Linked DNA regions of Homo sapiens: all the other regions are linked to region 3. Evidence: promoter capture Hi-C in human tissues and cell types (Jung and others, 2019). All regions are on one chromosome and are shown on one strand. The core of a region is centred on a gene start or on the middle of the fragment in contact, and the rest is flanking DNA. Distances in the headings are between cores, read along the strand shown.

The links. Contacts are between HindIII fragments. The study calls those that stand out against the background at their distance.
Region 1: a fragment that was not itself captured here is called in contact with the fragment with the promoter of GAPVD1 in region 3 in 2 of the 25 tissues and cell types used here (dorsolateral prefrontal cortex and mesenchymal stem cells).
Region 2: a contact is called between a fragment that was not itself captured here and the fragment with the promoter of GAPVD1 in region 3, in 1 of the 25 tissues and cell types used here (dorsolateral prefrontal cortex).

Annotation. Positions count from the first base shown.
Region 1 is chr9:126,318,291-126,320,990 of GRCh38, forward strand. No RefSeq gene overlaps it. Among named protein-coding and RNA genes, the nearest start is that of MVB12B, 7.2 kb to the right of the region's middle. The HindIII fragment of the contact is 4,487 bases long and covers 1-2,700 here.
Region 2 is chr9:126,468,238-126,470,981 of GRCh38, forward strand. All of the region lies in intron 7 of MVB12B (multivesicular body subunit 12B), which reads left to right. Among named protein-coding and RNA genes, the nearest start is that of NRON, 59 kb to the left of the region's middle. The HindIII fragment of the contact is 4,519 bases long and covers 1-2,744 here.
Region 3 is chr9:125,260,466-125,263,165 of GRCh38, forward strand. GAPVD1 (GTPase activating protein and VPS9 domains 1) reads left to right here and starts at 1,361. Exons shown (of 28, transcript NM_001282680.3): 1 at 1,361-1,494. RefSeq lists silencers at 1,258-1,439, 1,378-1,507. The HindIII fragment of the contact is 6,614 bases long and covers 1-2,700 here.

The DNA of each region.
Region 1 (2,700 bases), core at 75-2,574, 1.1 Mb after region 3:
AGTGAATCTTAGACAGCCAATTTTTATTTAGTGGTAGAAGCAATAAGAGGATATAAAACTGTCAGCAGTCTGATTCTGCCATGTGGAAGAAGAAGGTCTGTAATGAGAGAATGAAGCTGAGATAAAGGAAGCTCTGGGTTTCTGGTGTCAGTTCTTCCTGAGTACACCTGCAGCCCTAACCTTCCTGAGGTTTGCCTGGCCCAGGGAAGTGGGCACATAGATGTGATGCGATCCTGCCCTCTGTCCCAGTTTATTGGGTCTGGGGTAGTTCTGACCTTTACTGGGCCTGTCAGATCATCTCTCTGAAAGTCTGGAATTGGAGCTTAGAGATGCCTTGTCACTGTCTGCAGGCCACTGGGACTGATGTGATATAGACTGTGGGCTGAGAACACCATCATGGCAGCAATTGTTAGACTGTGGACAGGGAGGAGAAGAAGAGAAAAGTCGTTGTTAGAAAGGGCAAAAAACAAAGGCAGACACAGGGAAAAGGGGAAACAGGAGGAAACATAGCCCTGGAAGAGGCCTGGAAATGTGCCTGCCGTACGAGACTGCTTCCGTGAGAGAATCCCAGTTTGTTCCATGAATTCTGTTTTATGCCTAACTGGGTTTGAGAGCATTTCTGTTACGGAAAACCAAATGATCACTGAACAACATCTGAATCTCCCTACAGCCTGTGAATATCTTGAGGGCACAACTGACTCTGCTCGTCTCTCTAAATCCAGAAGCTTGGCCTGGACTCCCAGTGAGAGAGTGAAGAAACAACCATTGTCCTGAGAATCAGGGCTCTATCCAACACAATGCGTTTCAGGACTCTGGAAATCCTGCTCCAGAGTTTTGTAGGCAGGTGCAGTGGCTCTCACCTGCAATCCCAGTGCTTTGGGAGGCTGACGGGGTAGGATTGCTTGAGGCCAGGAGCTCAAGACCAGCCTGGGTAACACGGCGAGATCTCTGCCTCTAAAAAAAAAAATCTAAAAATTAGCCAGGAGTTCAAGGCTGCAGTGAGCTAGGATTGCACCGCTGCACTCAGTCTGGGCAGCAGAGTGAGATCCTGTCTCAAAACAAAAACAAACAAAAAACAACAACGAAAACAAAACAAAACAAAAAAACACAAAAAAAGAGTTTTGTAGAGTGAAGTTCCAAGCATCGACTTTAGAGTCTAATACCTCTAACTCCTACTTTCCATGATATAACTTAGGAAAGCCACTTTATCTCTCTGAGCCCCAGTTTTTGTAGTTATAATATGGCAATCATACTCCCTGCTTTACAGGATCAGTGTTGGTTATTGAGTGAAATAGTTTAGGCAGAAGGACCTAGCCCAGTGCCTGACACAGAGGAAATACCCCGTGAATGGCAATGATCATGATTCCTAACAGTTGCAGATAAGGACCGACATTAATTCAAGAATTATTTGTTGAGTGCCTGCTAAGTCCTAGAGTGGTAAATAAAAGAGACAGGGCTCCTCAGGTGCCTGCCCCTGTGAAGCTTACAATCTAAAGAAAGGAAGTCGCTTTTGCTGAATGCTGTCTTTGTACCAGCTCTCTGCGGCACAAAGGCCCTCTCTATTAGGGAAGGTGTTGAAACAATCACAAGTTGGATCCGTTATTCTGTGGGGCCTCAGTGTCATAAAAGCAGGTCTGCATGTGTTTATGGCTTCTTCATTTCAACAGCACTGTTTGTGGGTATCCTCCGTTTATTTCTCACATCCATCCAGTCAAAGTCTTGTGAAAGTGAGCCTGCCACATTTACACACCTGTCCCACAAACATGCTAATCCCACCTGCCTGCTTTCTGCTCCTACCAGCAGGTCAAAAACTGTGCAGATCAGGGAAAAGTTCTGTTTAGCCAGCAAGACTCATAACTGAGGAGATTTTACCCTTACTCTTTCAAGGCAGAATCAATCCATTCTAGTTCCCGCAGATCAATACCAGAAAACAGCCCTAGGAGTAATGATGTATTTATTATCATAATTGAGAGAGCCCTTAAAGAGGGCCAAAAAGGAAGGAAGTGAGTGGTGGGGATCTGAGCTCCAGGAAGCTGCCCGAGTTGGCCCTGGACCTGTGCAGGTAAGGCCTGGTAAGCATGAAGGCCTGCTTTGCACGGCTCTCCACCCTTAACCCATCTCTTTCAGAACAGGTACTATTTGTGGCACTGAACACTTTCTGGGATCTTATCATGTATGAAATGCACTGACATTTTTTCCCCTGATTATAAAGGTCATATAGTTCATTATTAATTTTTTTAAAAACTTAATTGCCTTCTTCCTTGATAATGAAACAGTGATTTTTTTTTTTTTTTTTTTTTTTTTTGTATTGGCCTGGAAATACGGCCAGTCTCAGGAAGTGACTGCCATTGACAAAGCCAATTTCCCATCCTCCCTTGCAGTGAGGAGGGGCAATGTGACCCATTTCTAGCCAATGGTATCTAAGCAGGCCTGGTGGGGAGTTTCTGAGAAAGTTTTTGCTGCCAGGCCATGACATCTGAAGCTGGGGGAGTAATCCTGCACCCATGAGGCAATGACAGAAAAGACATCAAGCTGAAGATGTCAAAGAAGTGTGGATGGACATGTATTCTTAATGGCTTCATTCTTTCTTAACAAGAAGACTGAAGATGATTACTGGCCAGTAAAATAAACACCTACTGTTCAAGCTACTGTTGGTTGAATTTTCTGTTATTTGTATCCATATTCCTAAGTGATGCAAAT
Region 2 (2,744 bases), core at 188-2,687, 1.2 Mb after region 3:
CTTCCAAACTCACCCTCACATCCCCGCCCGCCAGGCCTCATTTCTGGATCTCCACCCGGCAGCCCTCACACACCCATCTCACATTCTCGGTCATAATGTTCTAACCAGTGTTGACCAGTTGCCTCCCCTTGGCTGTGGCCCAAGCCCCTCAAACCAGACACATGCTCAGCGGGACCCACGAGTTCATCTCTGCTGCTTTTCCGCTGGCCCCCACGCCCCGTCAGTACCTGGCATTTCATTCTCCCAGCTCTTTAGGCCAGGATCCTGGGGTCACCCTTGATTCCGCCTTGCCCCTCTGCAGCCAGTGGCCAGGTCTCTTGATTCTTCCATCTAAATGTCCCTTGGCCTTCCCCAGCCACTCCATTCTTACTGCCACTGCCCTCATCCGGGCCACCAGCGTCCCTCGCCTGGTTCAGTGTCAGAACTTCCTCCCTGGTGTTCCTGCTCCAGCCTCACTCCCTGTAATTCATTCTCCTCTCCATAGCCAGGGAGACGCTGTTAAAACCTAAATCTCCCCATCTCTCTCTCCAGCTCAAAGACCCTTTGGTGGCTCCCCAGGGACCTCATGATGTCCTTCAGTCTGCTGAGAATGGCCATCAGGACTCCTGGCAGGCTGGTTCTTGGTTGTCTCTGGACCCTACTTCTATGCAACAGTTAAAAAGGCTGAGACACAGAGCTCTAAGAATTGATGTGGAAACACAGTCAATTGAAAAAAAGTAAATTGCAAAACAGTTACTTATGCTGTGATGCTATTTTTATTAAAAACACGAATACATACAAAACAAAATTCTGGCCAGCTGTAGTGGCTCATGCCTGTAATCCCAGCTACTTGGGAGGCTGAGGCAGGAAGACCCCTTGAGCCCAGGATTTCGGGGCTACACACAGCTATGATGGCACCACTGCACTTCAGCCTGGGTGATAGAGCAAAAGTCCATGTCTAAAAAATAAAAAAATAATATTCTGTCCTTTTTCTATACATGCCAACACGCAGGTGAATGCATGGGAGACAGGCCGGCAGGACCCCAGGCACTGTGTACAGACCACTACCAAGGCTTGCTCTGAGAAGGGTCCAGGGATCAGCGGCTCCGGATTCAAGGGGTGCTTTGACTTAGCTATCCTATTGGAATGGTTTCCTTAGAAAATATATTCATGTGCTGAAGTGTTAAAGAGTACAACTTAAAAATATAGATGGGTTGGTTTTGAGAAGGTAAAAAGAGCCCTGGCAGAGAAAGTGCGTCTTCCAAGCCTGAGGTTCCCTGCTCCACAACCGAGGGGTGTATGTGATGCTCAGCCTGGGGGACAGGCGTGCTCCGTAGTCACAGGCCATGCCTGTCAGGCCCTTGCTGTCAGTTACCCCCCGTGGCTGCAGATCACACTGCCTGTTTTAGAGCATGCCTTCTTCCAGAGGATGTGGTCGCTACTAGTGGTAACGTATCTGCATTGGACCTTGGGTCTGCTTTTTGTTCTGCATCTACAAAGCTCCTTTGGTCTCGAGCTCACTGAGGAGTTTCTGCGTTTGTCGCTGTGGGCAGCAGGTGTGTGCACTGACCCAGTGGCCCCTCAGCCACCAGGGTACCTTTGAACTCATGTGGAAAAGTATCACTGAGTTGCGTTTTATCTTTACCTTGAGCAAAATGCAGTTGATCCCTGCCCCAAGCCATTAAATATTTATAACGTTAAAAAAATGTTTCTTTAATGTCTCTGAGCCTCTCTTTTCTAAACTGTGGAAGAAAGACAATAACAATACCTGGACTGCTATGATGTTTAAATGAGATAAAAACATAAGGCCCTAGGTACAAACTAGCTGCTCAGTAACTGTTAGCCACTGGTATTAGTATTAGTGAGTATTAGTGTTATTACTGCCGTACAGAGGAAAATACCCTTTCGCGGTAGACCCCTTTCTGCCTGCTTTCCCATAAAAACAGGAGTGCAGCCATATTAAATTACATAACCCAGGGGCTGTGAGTCCCAACCCAAAGACGTTTGGAGGGACAAAAGCAATGTTTGCTGAGGAGTAACTCATTGGGTCCCCCAGACCATGGCTCTCCGTGGTGTCTGCTATCTCTGGTGTTGCAAGTCAAGCTCGACTTGGAAGCAAGATCCAAGCTTCTGAGGCTCAGTGAGAATGTTCTTGTTGTGTGTCGAGTTTCTTGTGGGTGTGGACTGTGGGGCAGCTGCCTTCCCTCTGTGCTCCCATAGCTTTCAGAGAACTGCCCTGGACCTGCATGAGGTTGTGCAGCCCAGCACTGCACCCTGGACCCTGGAGGGAGGGACTGCCCTGAAGGAGGAGGTGGGGGGGCTGGTGGCCCTAGATTCCTCCCAGGGCACTAGGGATGCAGAGGGATGAAGCGAGCCCCTCAATTACAGTCTTCTGTGTAGAGATGGGGAGCCTAGGAGGAGTCAGTGCTCTGTGTGTGTGTGTGTGTGTGTGTGTGTGTGTAATCCAGATTGCTCATGCCAAATAGAACCTCTAAGAATGTTCGTTTGTGGTGTGAGGGCACCCTGGTCTGGGTGCCCAATGAGTGACTCCTTAGCAAACATTGCTTCCGTCCCACCAAACGTCTTTGGATTGGGTCTCACAGCCCATGGATTGTGTAATTTAATATGGCTGCACTTACGTTCTTATGTGAAAGCAGGTAGAAAAAGGTCAACCGTGAAAGGGTATTTCCCTCTGTACAGCAGTAATAACACTAACACTAATACGAATGGCTAACAGTTACTGAGCAGTTCGTTCGTACCTAGGG
Region 3 (2,700 bases), core at 111-2,610:
ACCATGCCCCTAAAGGTGACATCAAGAGAGGTGAGTAGATAGAAAGCAGTTTGGGAGTTGATTGACATTTGAAATAGCTGGGGAAATGATTATTACTTTTTTCCTTTTTTTGCCTGGAGACTCCCAGTATTGGAGGATATAATCATTGTTCTCAATTTTTTGAAGATCTGTCAAGTGGAAGACATTCTGTATTGCTCCAGGCAGCCTAACTACCAGCAATGGAAGGAAATAAAGGGAAACAGATTTCAGCTCAGCAGGAGGCAGAACTTTCTAACATTTAGAGCTGTCCAACAGTGGAGCAGGCTGCATTACTTGAGGGAGTGAGCTCCCTGAAATTTGAACTGTTGAACAGGAAGATGACCATCTGGCTGAATGTACAGGAGGGAATTCCTGCCTGGGCAACAGTTGCACTAGTGACCTTTAAGCAGGTATCTTCCAATTTTAAGGTTTCTAGACTGTTCAACTCAGCTAACTTGACCTCTGAATATATGAGTTATGGTGTTACAAAAATTATTAGACAGTTCATTTATTGACTTACCTAAAATAACTGCATGGTGAAGTTTATGATAAGCAAGATTTTAGAAACTGAGAAGTGGGAAGGCAGGTTTTACACTGAAAATCCAGATACCATCCAAACCAATTAATGGCACTTAGAACAAAAGGGAAGGGAGGGGCCGGCAGCGGTGGCTCACGCCTGTAATCCCAGCACTTTGGGAGGCCGAGGCGGGCGGATCACGAGGTCAGGAGATCGAGACCATCCTGGCTAACACGGTGAAACCTCGTCTCTACTAAAAATCAAAAAATTAGCCGGGCGTGGTGGCGGGCGCTTGTAGTTCCAGCTACTTGGGAGGCTGAGGCGGGAGAATGGCGTGAACCCGGGAGGCGGAGCTTGCAGTGAGCCGAGATTGAGCCACTGCACTCCAGCCTGGGCGACAGAGCCAGACTCCGTCTCGAAAAAAAAAAAAAAAGGGAAGGGAGGTTTGTAAGTAGTGTGTGCGTACGTGTGAGAGAGAAACAGAGAAGAGAGAGAGTCATTCATGCGAATAATGTGTCCTGGGCAACTGAGCGTTGTCACAGAAAGCATAAAACGCTCTACATTTTTGCTTTACACATACTTGCTCAGTCGGATTCTTCACGTCCAGCATTACTGCAGGCGGAAACCAGGGCCCAGGCCTGGTGAACAGCCTTCCGGAAGACGATTCCGGACCCGGACACCCACGACAGCCTCAGGGGGCAGCTGACCTAGGGCTGCCTAAGGCGGAAGTGGGAGCCCCTAGCCGCCCGGGCGGAACTACAGCTCCCAGAGGCCCCCGCGGCGCTGCGCACGCGCGCTGGCGTGGCGGCAGCGCCGCTGCAGGACGCAGGGAAGCCAACAGGCGAGTGGCGAAGGTGGCGGCAGCGGCGGCGGGGGCAGTCACCGGCTAGGGCGACGGCTCCGAGGCCGAGTGGCGGTCCGACAGAGTCCTCCGTGTCCTCCCCCGCATGACCCCCTTGGTGAGTACGCGTCCCGATTTAGTCCGCGGGCTGTGAGCGGCTCCCTGCCTCGCGGCCGGGTTGCTCCGGCCTAGGGCCGCAGCCTGTCTCTGACTGCCCGGCCGTCAGGTCCAACTGACCCCGGGGTCCTGGGCTCTTCCCGTCAGTGTCGGGCGAGGTGGGGGTCGGGGGACACTGGGTTAGACCCAGGGGAGAGATGTGGCGGCGCGCAGGAGCCAGGGCGGCCTGGGGCTGAGGAGAGGGAGAGACGCGTGGGGGATGGGATGGGAAGGGACAGGAGGACCGCGGGGCGGCCTCGGGTGGGGGCCAGAGACGAGAGGCCCGGCAGGTAGGGAACTGAGTATAGGAGGCGAGAACGAAATGGAATGTCTTCTGAGTGTCGCTGATAAAGATATCGTGCTGCAGGGAAGCTTGACAAGCTGGACACACGGGTCTGGGGGCAGCCCACCTAACACAGACACTCACTGTACTTGGCATCTTTCCACTTGCTGTCGGAGGTCTGAAAGTGAGGGAGCTGTTGGTTGTTTCCATCCCTTTTCTTTTAACTTCACCTTTTATTGACTGGCAAAATTGTAGTGAGTGCTGGCTAGGCAAACCACAGAAGTACACCCAGGGTTCTGTGTATAAATGTGCATAAAAACAGGGAGACATAGTGATAGGTTCAGATGAGAACTAGGTCAAAGGAGGAATCAGTGTTTTTATTTTTAAATTTATGACGAAAATCAGTTCTGAGCAGGACTTTGAACTAGAGAGGGGTTTTAAACTGGAGTTCATTGATGGATAGAATTAGAAGGGTCCTTTCACTAGAAGGAGGATAAAATGACATCATTATTTTTATTGACTGCTAACTGAAACTTATTATTTCCTTCAGTTACGAATGTGGACAACAAGCCAGAGTAGCATTAGCAGCGCCTATGACTTTGTGATCAATAAAAATTACGGATATTTTTGCATCATGTTTACAGTTGCAGATAGCTCAGAATATCATTTATGGTTAACACTTCTTTGAATTTCTGGTGTTACTAGACCCGCCGTTAGACATTGTTATTTAATGTGATAATAAGGCTGTACATATATTATGACCATATTAGTTTGTTGTTTTGCTAATATTTCCATATAATTGGTTTCCCTTGTAATCACATGTATTTAATTATGCACTTAAAAGAAATCTGAGAAAGGGACCATAGGCTTCACCAAACTGCCAAT